Linked DNA regions of Homo sapiens: regions 1, 3, 4 and 5 are each linked to region 2. Evidence: promoter capture Hi-C in 16 types of primary human blood cells and fetal thymus (Javierre and others, 2016). All regions are on one chromosome and are shown on one strand. Each heading gives the region's core, a stretch centred on a gene start or on the middle of the fragment in contact. The rest is flanking DNA. Distances are from core to core; before and after follow the strand shown.

The links. Contacts are between HindIII fragments. The CHiCAGO score rates a contact against its expected background, and 5 or more counts as called.
Region 1: a contact is called between a fragment that was not itself captured here and the fragment with the promoter of RRAGA in region 2, in 12 of 17 cell types (naive B cells, total B cells, total CD8 T cells and 9 more). The highest score is 12.7, in naive B cells.
Region 3: a fragment that was not itself captured here is called in contact with the fragment with the promoter of RRAGA in region 2 in 6 of 17 cell types (total B cells, naive CD4 T cells, activated CD4 T cells and 3 more); the score reaches 7.2 in total B cells.
Region 4: a contact is called between a fragment that was not itself captured here and the fragment with the promoter of RRAGA in region 2, in 11 of 17 cell types (activated CD4 T cells, non-activated CD4 T cells, total CD4 T cells and 8 more). The highest score is 11.0, in activated CD4 T cells.
Region 5: a contact is called between a fragment that was not itself captured here and the fragment with the promoter of RRAGA in region 2, in 6 of 17 cell types (M0 macrophages, non-activated CD4 T cells, naive CD8 T cells and 3 more). The highest score is 6.7, in M0 macrophages.

Annotation. Positions count from the first base shown.
Region 1 is chr9:19,428,741-19,431,440 of GRCh38, forward strand. All of the region lies in intron 3 of ACER2 (alkaline ceramidase 2), which reads left to right. Among named protein-coding and RNA genes, the nearest start is that of ACER2, 21 kb to the left of the region's middle. The HindIII fragment of the contact is 196 bases long and covers 1,243-1,438 here.
Region 2 is chr9:19,048,176-19,050,875 of GRCh38, forward strand. It overlaps RRAGA (Ras related GTP binding A), which reads left to right and starts at 1,252. Exons shown (of 1, transcript NM_006570.5): 1 at 1,252-2,700. The coding sequence starts at 1,485. The coding sequence ends at 2,426. It also overlaps a transcript of SAXO1 not described here. RefSeq lists an enhancer at 1,192-1,713 and a silencer at 1,321-1,510. The HindIII fragment of the contact is 15,757 bases long and covers 1-2,700 here.
Region 3 is chr9:19,351,681-19,354,380 of GRCh38, forward strand. DENND4C (DENN domain containing 4C) reads left to right here. Exons shown (of 33, transcript NM_001330640.2): 25 at 393-502; 26 at 810-985. Among named protein-coding and RNA genes, the nearest start is that of RPS6, 27 kb to the right of the region's middle. The HindIII fragment of the contact is 5,968 bases long and covers 1-2,700 here.
Region 4 is chr9:19,448,326-19,451,025 of GRCh38, forward strand. It overlaps ACER2 (alkaline ceramidase 2), which reads left to right. Exons shown (of 6, transcript NM_001010887.3): 6 at 2,125-2,700. The coding sequence ends at 2,311. Among named protein-coding and RNA genes, the nearest start is that of MAP1LC3BP1, 14 kb to the right of the region's middle. The HindIII fragment of the contact is 9,286 bases long and covers 1-2,700 here.
Region 5 is chr9:19,321,229-19,323,928 of GRCh38, forward strand. The region is part of intron 12 of DENND4C (DENN domain containing 4C); the gene reads left to right. Among named protein-coding and RNA genes, the nearest start is that of RPS6, 58 kb to the right of the region's middle. The HindIII fragment of the contact is 3,316 bases long and covers 1-2,700 here.

The DNA.
Region 1 (2,700 bases), core at 91-2,590, 380 kb after region 2:
CTGGTGGTTATTATGAATGGCTTATGGACAAGTGGGTTTTTTTTTTTTTTTTTTTTTTTTTTTTTTTGAGATGAAGTCTTGCTCTGTCACCCAGGCTAGAGAGCGGTGGTGCGATCTTGGCTGACTACAACCTCTGCCTCCTGGGTTCAAATGATTCTCCTGCCTCAGCCTCCCAAGTAGCTAGAATTACAGGCACTTGCCACCATGCCCAGCTAATTTTTGTATTTTTAGTAGAGACAGGGTTTCACCAGGTTGGCCAGGCTGGTCTCGAACTCCTGACCTCATGATCCGCTCGCCTCGGCCTCCCAAAGTGCTGGGATTACAGGCATGAGCCACTGTGCCTGGCCTGAATTTTTTATTGATATGTAATAGTTGTACATATTTTATGTAGGGAAATTATTAATGTTCATTATGTCAATAGGATATAAATGTTGGGTTTATAGAAAAAAACTTTCTTTCATCTTGCCTAAAATGTCCTGAGACTCTTTAGGACATATACTGAATTGCTGATGGTTATTAATAATTTTTAGAGTTTTTATTTTAAGAAAAAAATGAGAACAAGGAACTATTATAGGCTAATTGTATCTACTTTTTTTGTTTTGTTTTTTGGAGACAGGATCTCACTCTGTTGCCCAGGCTGGAGTGCAGTGGCACAGTCATGGCTCACTGCAACCTCTGCTTCCTGCGCTCAAGTGATCCTCCTACCTCAGCCTTCCAAGTGGCTGGGACCACAGCTGCCTGTCACTGCACCTGGCTAATTTTTGTATTTTTTGTAGAGACAAGGTTTTACCATGTTGCCCAGGCTGGTCTCAAACTCCTGGGCTCAAGAGATACTCCCACCTTGGCCTCCCAAAGTTCTGGGATAACAGGCATGAGCCACTGTGCCCAACCTTGTATCCACTTCTTAAATAATTTATTCTGCTATAGTTTTTATGATTTTATCTTTAGATAAAATCCACTTTATTTTTTGAATCTTGAATAGCAAGGGAGCAGTCTGGGATCTGCCCGCCCTGCTAGCATTCTTCCTGGATGAGTTGAGGCTGGAATCTTAAACTCTCTGGGCCTTAGTGCTTTAGTTATAAAATAACAGGGTTGAAGTAGCTCTCTGAGGTCCGTTTCATGACCAAATGCTATATTGCTGTAACTATCAAGGGCTGGCTGTTCTAAATAGATTATGTTTTGGTAGCTTATAGCAGTGGATCTTAACCAGGGACATTTCCAGTTCTTATGAGACATTTATAAAGCTTGTGGACATGTTTTTGGTGGTCATTACGATGGGAGGTTTTATCATCTATAAATTTCATTTCATTTCAGAAATGAAATGAAATTATCACTGCTTTAAAGAGTAGCCAATGATAGTGGTTTTCAAGCCTATACCCTGTGTCCCTTTTTACTGTGTAAAAAAGCCAATGATAGTGGTTTTCAAGTCTGAAAACAAAGCTTTACTTTGGTTAAAAGGGACACAGGCTATAGGCTTGAAAACCACTACTTTAAAGGGTAGTAAATGATAACAGTAACAGCTTTACTATAAAAATATTTTGATGATGGTACTGGGTTGTTAGATTTTGGATTAGAGAATACAGGAAGCAGTGATGCTAAGGGTTTCCTGACCTTGTGTTTCAGTGTGAGACCCTAATGGGCTGGAAAGTTGAAAACAGGACCAGAGGCTGTCATCAATCACAGTTTAGAAAAACACCCTGTTGGGGCCTCTTACTCCTGGATATTTCTAGCTCTCTTGTACCCAGGGCCTCTGTTGACTCTGGGGTCTGCTGGGCTGGCTGACTGGTTTTCTGCTGGCCACATAGCCTCTGTTTACTTCTCCCGGCTGCTTGTGTTCACAGGATGTCCTTGTTGGCCAGCACATTCCTGTACACCTTCTGGACTTGACGTGGGGAGGCATCTGCAGATGGCCTCCCTAAAGAAAGCATGTTTTGCAGCTGGGTGCAGTAGCTCATGCCTGTAATCTCAGCACTTTGGGAGGCTGAGGCAGGTGGATCACCTGAGGTCAGGAGTTTGAGACTAGCCTGGCCAGCATGGTGAAACCCCATCTCTACTAAAAATACATAAATTAGCTTAGGGTGGTGGCAGGTGCCTGTAATCCCAGCTACTCCGGAGGCTGAGGCAGGAGAATCGCTTGAACCCAGGAGGCAGAGGTTTCAGTGAGCTGAGATCGCACCACTGCTCTCCAGCCTGGGTGACAGAGTGAGACTCTGTCTCAAAAAAAACAAAAAAACAAAAAACCCAACAAAACCAAACAACAACAACAACAAAAACCCATGTTTTTTTCAAGCTTACTGCCTTTAAACCATTTGGCAGTACTCTGTGGAGCCTTTGGTGATTGCAACAGCAGCTCAGTTACGTTTTCCCTGAGAGTATGATATCAACAACAATAATATTATTTAAAGTGGTATTTATATTTAAAATGATGGTAAGGATAACAGTAATAATGAATTTTATTAGTACATAATATGTACTGGGCACTGTGTTAATGCTTACAAAAACACTGTGAGGCAGAGTGTCTTAATTTTTATGTGGGAAAGGCTCAAAGAGTTGAGTTACTTGCCAAAGGTCTCACAGCTACTAAGCAATGGAGGCAGGATTTGAATGCATATCGGTCTCACTGGAACACCTATGCCTTGAATCACTCTGTTACCCTCTCTGACCTGTGCGTAATTCTTAAACCGCTGGGTACAGAGAGGT
Region 2 (2,700 bases), core at 2-2,501:
GGGCTTTAGGCCAGGCACGGTGGCTCACGCCTGTAATCCCACACTTTAGGAGGCCGAGGCAGGTGGCTGGCTTGAGTTCCAGACCAGCCTGGCCAACATAGTGAAACCCCGTCTCCACTAAAAATACAAAAATTAGCCGGGCGTGGTGGCAGGTGCCCACAATCCCAGCTATTTGGGGGACTGAGGCAGGAGAATCGCTTGAACTCAGGAGGCGTAGGTTGCAGTGAGCTGAGATCGCGCCACTGCACTCCAGCCTGGGCAACAGAGTGAGACTCCGTCTCAAAAGAAAAAAAAAGGACTTTAAGGTAGATACAGAGGCTTCAGTATCCTGATGACTCTCATTCATTCTGTATGAACGATACTGGCGACACTGATTCACTCATCTACTTGAAGACCAAGAGCAGAATCATATTATGCTTTGAGAGGGGCACAGGGTAGCCTATTGTTAGGCAAATAGACCGCAGCAAGATTGTCTAAAACCAAATTCCATTTCATCATTTAGTATCTGTGTAACTTGGTCAAGTGACTTAACCTCTCTAACCTTTGATTCCCTAACTTGAAAATAGGGTTATTAATTCACAGGGTTACTGTGAGGATGGAACTAATGCCTGGGATTCCACATTATCATTTCCTCGAGCTTTGGAATTCTAATTATAAATTCTAAAGTCTGAGATTACGGAAAAGCAGATGTGAGAAAGGAATTAAAAGCACCCACTGGAAGCCAGGATGTCTCCTAGGAGGGACTTGCTATTACCTAGCTGCGCAGCAACAGGCAATCGCTTGCCTACAAGTCTCACTTTCCGCGCCTGCACAGTCTCCATCTGCCCTGCCCTTGTACTCACTGGGCCGGGCAAGCTGGGGAGGCCTAAGCGGACTGGGAAGTTAGGCTTTCCCTCCACTTCACCAGTCGGCTGCCCCTGCGGAAACCGGCCCGACACACCTCGCTCCTAAAGCCAGTTGCGGTGGTGGTGGCGGTTGGGGCTTTTTTTGGCCACGAGAGGGCAGCATTTCCCCCGGCCAACCACACACGTACCCCTAGCAACAGCAAACCCAGCTGCAACAGAACAAAAGACCGAAGTCCTCGAGCTTCCCTTCCATCTTAGGGCTCACGCCGCCCCGGTTAGGTTTCATTAGAGCAGCGGCTTTTCAAGGCTCGTCGGGCACGGAGGGCGGAGCGAGGGAGCTCTCGCGAGATCGCCGCCGGAAGTGGGTGGTGGCGGGGACGCAGCGGCTCCCTCCCGGAAAGCGAGCGTATCTCCCGAGCCGTTGCCACTGACAGCCGCGGGCGCTCCCATCTGAGTAAGAGCCAGCCCGTCCGCGGCCTCTCCAGCCCCGGGTTCGCGCTCTCGACTCTCCTGCCTGCCCAGCTGCGCGGCGGAGCGGAGCGAGGCGCGGCCTGCGAGTCCCCGGCAGCCCCCGACCCCTCCCTCGGCGCTGCGTGTAGGCCGCGCCCTCAGGCCCAGTCCGCGGTGCCCCGGCGGGTGATGCCAAATACAGCCATGAAGAAAAAGGTGCTGCTGATGGGGAAGAGCGGGTCGGGGAAGACCAGCATGAGGTCGATAATCTTCGCCAATTACATTGCTCGCGACACCCGGCGCCTGGGGGCCACCATTGACGTGGAACACTCCCACGTCCGATTCCTAGGGAACCTGGTGCTGAACCTGTGGGACTGTGGCGGTCAGGACACCTTCATGGAAAATTACTTCACCAGCCAGCGAGACAATATCTTCCGTAACGTGGAAGTTTTGATTTACGTGTTTGACGTGGAGAGCCGCGAACTGGAAAAGGACATGCATTATTACCAGTCGTGTCTGGAGGCCATCCTCCAGAACTCTCCTGACGCCAAAATCTTCTGCCTGGTGCACAAAATGGATCTGGTTCAGGAGGATCAGCGTGACCTGATTTTTAAAGAGCGAGAGGAAGACCTGAGGCGTCTGTCTCGCCCGCTGGAGTGTGCTTGTTTTCGAACGTCCATCTGGGATGAGACGCTCTACAAAGCCTGGTCCAGCATCGTCTACCAGCTGATTCCCAACGTTCAGCAGCTGGAGATGAACCTCAGGAATTTTGCCCAAATCATTGAGGCCGATGAAGTTCTGCTGTTCGAAAGAGCTACATTCTTGGTTATTTCCCACTACCAGTGCAAAGAGCAGCGCGACGTCCACCGGTTTGAGAAGATCAGCAACATCATCAAACAGTTCAAGCTGAGCTGCAGTAAATTGGCCGCTTCCTTCCAGAGCATGGAAGTTAGGAATTCCAACTTCGCTGCTTTCATCGACATCTTCACCTCAAATACGTACGTGATGGTGGTCATGTCAGATCCGTCGATCCCTTCTGCGGCCACTCTGATCAACATTCGCAATGCCCGGAAACACTTTGAGAAGCTGGAGAGAGTGGATGGCCCCAAGCACAGTCTCCTTATGCGTTGAATATTGCCAAATGCTCTTTCTGAAAATGCTGAATTGCCTTTTTTGTTTGCATCCTTTATTTTTAATATTCATAATGTCGTGTGCTTAAAAGTGGGCTTTGAAGTGTGTGCTGCTTACTCCTTTCATCTTTCTCCCCGCTTCCCCAGTCTTTAAACATTGGACGCTATTTACTCAGCTACCCAGTAGAGCTTGAAGCTGACCTTTCTGAGAAGTTGGTATGGTGTAACACTAAAGTAGGTGGTTCGTGTGTGTTCTCATTACCTGGTTATGATAG
Region 3 (2,700 bases), core at 154-2,653, 300 kb after region 2:
CCTGTAATCCCAGCTACCTGGGAGGCGGAGGCAGGAGAATCACTTGAACCTGGGAGGCAGAGGTTGCAGTGAGCCGAGATTGTACCACTGCACTCTAGCCTGGGCAACAGAGCGAGACTCCATCTAAAAAAAAAAAAAAGAAAAGAAAAAAAAATTTCAAATGTCCTGAAAGTTGAAAGAATCGTATAATGAACAATCATGTATTTTCCACCTAGATTTAATTAACTATTGTTAACTTTATCTCTTTCTATGTATGCATACATTTTTATACTGAGCCACTTGAAAAACAGTTGCAGACTTTATTCTGTGTCCCCCCTAAATACTTTGGCATGCATTTTCAAAAAACAAGGACATTCCTTACTTAAGGTATTACGATGTATATTCCTTTGTAGGTGAAGTTCCATTTCCAAGAGGCATGAAAGGGCAAGACTTTGAAAAATCAGATCATGGTTCTTCTCAAAATACCAGCATGTCTAGCATCTATCAGAATTGTGCAATGGAGGTAAAAGTTCTATATTCAGTTCATGATAAAGTAGCTGTAAGCATATTTTTATTTCAGAATGGCATTTAACAGGATTCTAAGATACCCTTGTGGACAGTATAATAAAATAAGTCATTTTGTTGAATTTGCTTGATGTCTTATGTAAGTAAGACATTGAACTGGTAGTTTACCTGTGAAATAAAAGAACTGTTATTAATAATTCCAAATTTGATCAGTAGAATAAAAAAAATCCCATTATCTCAAGAGAATTCCTGTTAAGATTAATTTTTATTAAACGTTCTCAGTGTCTGCATTTTTCTGTTTTTAGGTTTTGATGTCCAGTTGTTCACAGTGTAGAGCTTGTGGAGCTTTAGTTTATGATGAAGAAATTATGGCTGGATGGACAGCAGATGACTCAAATTTGAATACAGCTTGTCCATTCTGTAAAAGCAACTTCTTGCCTCTTCTCAATATAGAATTCAAAGATTTGAGAGGTTCTGCAAGGTTAGTCTTATAAAAGCTCTCTCAAGAAGTAAGTACCCTCAAAAAACACGACTTCTGGGAGAAGAGTGAAATATTCCTGGTATGCTCCAGGTCTGCCTTCCTGTCTGTCCTTCACCTTCAGTATTTGAGTAGCAAATACTAGTAATGTGGGAGTCTACTTTTCCATTTTATTTAAAGTAAGATTATCAGCCGGGCTCCGTGGCTCATGCTGTAATCTCAACACTTTGCGAGGCCCAGGTGGGAGGATTGCTTGAGGTCAGGAGTTCAAGACCAGCCTGGGCAACATGGCAAGACCCTGTCTCTACAAAAGATTTTTTAAAATTAGCTGGGCATGGTAGTGTGCACCTGTGGTAGCAGTTACTAGGAAGGCTGACATAGGAGGATCGCGTGAGCCCAGGAGTTTGAAGCTGCAGTGAGTATATATTTTAGAAGAAACAAAGGGGAAAAAAAGGCTTCAACTCTTCTCTTGTCACTTGCACGTCCTAGTAGTATTCTGTGCAGTGAAATGACCAAATTCTAGGCAATAGATATAAGACTAGCTGATCTATAATTATACATAAAATAATTGAGAGTTTGGTGACTCTGTGCTGACCTAGGGAATTATACTTAATATTCCATTCATTTTATGGAACAAATTGAACTTTTTATTTCCTGCCTTTAGCTGCTTTAAAAAAAATACACTGCCAGGTGTGGTGGCTCACACCTTAATCCTAGCACTTTGGGAGGCCCAGACAGGTGGATTGCCTGAGCTCAGGAGTTCGAGACCAGCCTGGGCAACACAGTGAAACCCTGTCTCTACTAAAATACAAAAGATTAGCCAGGTGTGGCGGCGTGCGCCTGTAGTCCCAGGCACCCGGGAGGCTGAGGCAGGAGAATTGCTTGAACCTGGGAGGTGGAGGTTGCAGTGAGCTGAGATTGCACCACTGCACTCCAGTCTGGGTGACAGAGAGAGACTCTGTCTCTGAAAAAACAACAAAAACATTTAGGCTGGGCATGATGGCTCATGCCTGTAATCCCAGTACTTTGGGAGGCCGAGGCAGGCAGATCACTTGAGGTCAGGAGTTCGAGACCAGCCTGGGCAACATGGCAAAACCCCATCTCTACAAAAAAATACAAAAAAGGTTAGCCCGACACCATGGCACATGCCTGTAGTCCCAGCAACCAGGAGGCTGAGGCAGGAAAATGGTTTGAACCCAGGAGGCGAAGGTTGCAGTGAGCTGAAATCACACCATTTAATTGTAGAGGTGTTTCTTCTCTGTTTTTTCTTTTAGCTTCAAGGGTGGAGCTAAGTCAAATCATACTCTTTAATTCCTGACACACTATCATCTTTGGACTGTGCAAGGGCCCTCTCGTGTTTATCCTCCTTTCCTCATTCCCACCCTCATTCCCCTATTCTACGAAGACACTGACTCTGCTAAGTGTGATATATATCTAAATTTACTTCTTTTTATTGCTCTATTTTAAATCTGGGTTACTATATGTACATCTAGTTTATTCCTTTTCTTCTACAGGAAGTTAATATACCTTTCTACTTATCCATTATTCTAGTGTTGGGTACTTCAGTTACTTTCAGTTCTCTGTTACTACAAACACCACGGTAGTAATGCAGTGCACTGCAAAATACATGTCCCCTTTTGGACTTGTGAAGTAGTTTCTCTAAGAAAACGATAATCCTTGGAGTAAGATCATTTTCATACATGATTTTAGTAAACACA
Region 4 (2,700 bases), core at 113-2,612, 400 kb after region 2:
TTAACCAAATACTTAAATCTATACTACATAGATCTAATGCTATACAGACATCATTCCATACCAATACATATATATAATCTTCATTTTTGTGTCTAATAAATGCTTCATAATATGGACACTTTATAATTTATTTAACCAACCTCTCTCTGATAACGGACTTTGAGGTTATTTCTAATTTTCCACTTTTGCAAACACTTTATAATGAACATCTAGATTGATTTGAGTTTCTGAATATTTTCATATGTTAAATTAATATTATATATTGCTAAATCCAGAGAAACTGTACCATTAACACTGTTTACTGAAGTCTGTAAGAGAGCATTTTTTACCCACACTTTCACATATACTGGAAACTCTTAAATCTCCATTAACCTGTTTGAGAAAAATTATATTTTGTTTTTATTATTATGTCTTTTTAAAAAATTAGTATTTTTGTTGGGCATCTTTTCAAATGTCAATTTGTGATGTGTATTTCCCCTTTTAATTTTCTTTGTCTGGTCTATTGAGTGTTTCTATTTTTAAAAGTTCATATCAGCCGGGCGTGGTGGCTCACGCCCGTAATCTCAGCACTTTGGGAGGCCGAGGCAGGTGGATCACCAGGTCAGGAGATCGAGACCATCCTGGCTAACACGGTGAAACCCCGTCTCTACTAAAAATGCAAAAAATTAGCCGGATGTGCATGTAGTCCCAGCTATTTGGGAGGTTGAGGCAGGAGAATCGTTTGAACCTGGGAGGCGGAGATTGAAGTGAGCTGAGATTGTGCCACTGTACTCTAGCCTGAGCAACAGAGTGAGACCCCGTCTCCAAAAAATAAAAAATAAAACAGTTTATATTCAGCATCTAGGCTTGGCACATAGTAGACAGTCATTACTAGCTACGTAACTATGTGCCACTTATGCATATTTGCAACATTTTCACAAGTACAGAGAATAATACATTGAACCCCCATATAGGCAACACCCAGATTCCATAACTATCAACACGAGGCCAATCTGGTTCATACCATTCTCACCTACTTCCCACCCTGACCCTGATTAATTTCTTTAGTGTTCTTTGTATGTAGGGATTTAAACTTTGTCATATGGTACAAATATTCCCTGCCCCCCTGCAGTTTCTCATTTGTCTTTCAGTATATTAATATTTTTGTGCCATACTGGTTTTAAACTTTCATATTGTCACATCTGTTAATCTTTTCTATAGGATTTCTGGATTTTGTGTAATTTTTAAAAAGATCCCCTCCTCCCCAACATCAAAGTTTATAAAAATATTGTCTTTGGGCTGGGCGCAGTGGCTTACGACTGTAATCCCAGCACTTTGGGAGGCCGAGGCAGGTGGATTACCTGAGGTCAGGAGTTCAAGACCAGCCTGGCCAACATGGTGAAACCCCCTCCCTCTCTACTAAAAATACAAAAATTAGCTAGGTGGGCCTGGTGGTGGGTGCCTGTAATCCCAGCTACTTGGGAGGCTGAGGCAGGAGAATTGCTTGAACCCAGGAGGCAGAGGTTGCAGTGAGCCGAGATTGCACCATTGCACTCCAGCCTGGATGACAGGGTGAGACTTCATTTAAAAAAAAAAAAAAAAAAAAAGGATTACATGCTTTTAAATGGTCTATTGTTCGATAAAGTTTAATATAAATTTAAAACTTTGTACAGGTACAGTGAGGATAAATTTTTTAAAATTTCCACTAAACTGCAAAAGTGGTTTAACCAACATAAAATTATTCCTGATGAAGGACATAAAATATCTGTAACCAGTTGTTAAAGTGAGAAGGTGGGTTCTAATCAGATGTGCTCAGTTACTTCCATCTTAGCATCTCTGTTGTAAATCCTTGGGCCTCAGTCTTCTTGTTTGAGGCCCAAAGGCATTTATTTGCACATTTGTTCCTATTATCCAGCAGGACTATTTAAGAACATTCTAAAACGGGTCCCAAATTGCTGAAGATTTATCATCCTGCTATTCCAGGGATTGTTGGTAATCTTCATCCTTTCCTAATTAGAAGAGGCCCCTGGGCTGCAACTACAGTCAGCAAGGTGCGTGGGTTAGACCGGAAGAAGGAGCAGGCTAAACTCAGGGCAGCGGAGTCTTCATGCTCATCAGGTTCTCACCTCTTGTCTCCCTCTGCAGGCACATCCTCATCTGCCTTGCTGCCTACCTGGGCTGTGTATGCTTTGCCTACTTTGATGCTGCCTCAGAGATTCCTGAGCAAGGCCCTGTCATCAAGTTCTGGCCCAATGAGAAATGGGCCTTCATTGGTGTCCCCTATGTGTCCCTCCTGTGTGCCAACAAGAAATCATCAGTCAAGATCACGTGATGGCAAGATGGTGGCTGGCTTCTCTGCTTATCGCCCCTCATGCAGTGGGCTTCCTTTGCTAGGAAGACAGCCAAGGGAGTTCGAATAGTTGGGGTGTGGGCTATCTTTTCAAAAATCTATTTGCTGGGGCTCTTAATTTCTTTAGTGTTCTTTGTATGTAGGGATTTAAACTTTGTCATATGGTACAAATATTCCCTGCCCCCCTGCAGTTTCCCATTTGTCTTTCAGTATGTTAATATTTTTGTGCCATACTGGTTTTAAACTTTCATGTTGTCACATCTGTTAATCTTTTCTTTAGGATTTCTGGATTTTGTGTAATTTTTAAAAAGGTCCCCTCCTCCTCCCTAATGTGTCTGTGGACCACCTGGATTCCACTGTACAAGGGGAAA
Region 5 (2,700 bases), core at 92-2,591, 270 kb after region 2:
TTGTCACATTGGTTCTAGGGATTATTAGAGGTGACCTGGATTAATTGATGATAGTGTGAATAGAAGAGTGATTTTTTTAGGAATTAGATTGAGTAGAACCTGGTGATTGAATATGGAATGTAAGGTAGAGTGGGAGATATCAAGAGCACCTTTGAGGTTTTTGCCTTTAACAACCAAGTGAATGGCCATGCCCTTTATAAGAAGTAAAACAACAGAAAAAAGGGAAGGAGCAGATCGAAGGTTTTTTTTTTTGTTTTGTTTTGTTTTGTTTTTGTTTTTGTTTTTTAGATGGAAAAAAGAGACTTGAGTATGCTGATGAGAAATAGCTAATAGAGGCCAGACGCAGTGGCTCACGCCTGTAATCCCAGCATTTTGGGAGGCTGAGGCAGGTGGATCACTTGAGGTCAGGAGTTTGAGATCAGCCTGGCAAACATGGCGAAACCCTGTCTCTACTAAAAATACAAAAATTAGCGCATGCCTGTAGTCCCAGCTACTCAGGAGGCTGAGGCAGGAGAATCACTCGAACCTGGGAGGTGGAGGTTGTAGTGAGCCGAGATCACGCCACTGAACGCCAGCCTGGGTAATAGAGTGAGACTCCATCTCAAAAAAAAAAAAAAAAAAAGAGAAATAGCTAATAGAGAGGGAGATTTATCCTGAGAACACTGGAAGGGGCTGGAATCCTGAAGTCATGTGATGGTTTGTCCTTAGATAGGAGGAGGGACATATCCACTGTAAAAAGGCAGAAGGAATAAAGGATAGCTGTTAAAGAGTCATAAATTATGTAGTGAGATAGTGTACATAGTTTCTATTTAATGATCTGCATTTTCATTGCACTGAAGTATGCTCATTTCGGGGTGCGGAGGGGGCACAAAAAACATGAAGGGAGAGCGCATACAAATTGGAAATAGTTGTGAAAACATGTGAAGAGGAAAATTAAATTGATTCCAGAAATGTAGTAGGGTTGTTGGTGAGGGATGAAGGTATAAGTGCTTCTGATCTGCCTAGTTGTGGAACTTTTTTTCCCCTTAACTTGTGCTCAGCCACCCTAATGCAGATCCAGAGAAGGCAAGTAGTACATTCCTCCAGAGCTGGGTTATGCTAGGTAGGTTTAACCAAAAAGACAAAAGAGCAGAGGGGTTGAGAGTATTGACAAAACAGTAATTGAAATGATGGATATAGCATGGAATCAGTATTGGACGGAGAAAGAAGTGAAGATGGGAGGATGTACATAGAAGTAAAAGGGCCAGTGGAGGCCAGGCGCGGTGGCTCAGGCCTGTAATCCCCGCACTTTCGGAGGCCGAGGTGGGCGGATCACGAGGTCAGGAGATGGAGACCATCCTGGCTAACACAGTGAAAAATTAGCCAGGCGTGGTGGCGGGCGCCTGTAGTCCCAGCTTCTCAGGAGGCTGAGGCAGGAGAATGGCATGAACCCGGGAGGCAGAGCTTGCAGTGAGCCAAGATTGACTGCACTCCAGCCTGGGCAATACAGTGAGACTTCATCTCAAAAAAAAAAAAAAAAAAAATAAGGGGGCCAGTGGATTGGAGATTTCCATGAGCCTTCCCTCTCTGCTCCCTGCACAAAAAACCCAAAAAACCCTAAAACACTTAGTAGAAATACTTAATTAAGGAGACCAGATAGGCAGAGCTAATGGGCTGGGAGTGATGTGAAAAAGAGATTTGAGAGGCAATGTTGTTTTGAATGCTGGCAAGGAAAGTCAAGGGACTGTGACTGTGTGTTGAAGTTGGTGATTGAGGTAGGATGGAGCATAGGATCACTGAAAATCAAGGAATGAAGGCTGGGCATGATGGCTCATGCCTGTAATTCTAGCACTTTGGGAGGCTGAGATGGGAGGATCACTTGAGGCCAGGAATTCGAGACCAGCCTTGTCAACATAGCAAGACACCCATCTCTTAAAAGAAAAGAGGCTAGGTGCAGTGGCTCACGCCTGTAATCCCAGAACTTTGGGAGGCCAAGGCGGGCTGATCACCTGAGGTCCGTTCAAGACCAGCCTGGCCAACATGGTGAAACCGTCTCTACTAAAAATACAAAAATTAGCCAGTCGTGGTGATGGGCACCTGTAATCCCAGCTACTCAGGAGGCTGAGGCAGGAGAATCACTTAAACCTGGGAGGCAGAGGTTGCAGTGAGCCAAGATCACATTACTGCACTCCAGCCTGGGCGACAGAGCTAGACTCTGTCTGGAAAAAAAAAAAAAAAGGAATGAAGAAGAATCTAAAGTGTTTTCATGGTTTGTGCTTCTGGGTGTGGAAGAATGATGGTGGTAGGAATTAGAAAGGAGGAGACCTTGAATCAGATGCCTTGGTCTTCAGTGAATGAAGGAGTGTCCCTGAAATCAATAGATGTCTACGATTAATAGAGGAAATTGTGGAATAGTCAGATGCTTGAAACTTTAATGAGCAGAAATTTTAAAAACACAATACAGAAATAATGGTCTTGCAACATTAAAGAGGAAGGACATTGACTCTTTGGAAATTGACCATGGACTCAAGAGTATGCAGAGTATCAGAGAAATTTCTACTTAAAAGTTGTAGAGCTGGAGGTTCCTTATAGGGGATTTAGATTTCAGTGAAGAGTTTGATAGAAGTATTTTTCGTGGTTTAATTAGGCAGAAGGAGCTATATATGCAGTTACCACAGGTTGAGCTTCCCTAATCTAAAAATCCAAAACCTGAGATGCTGC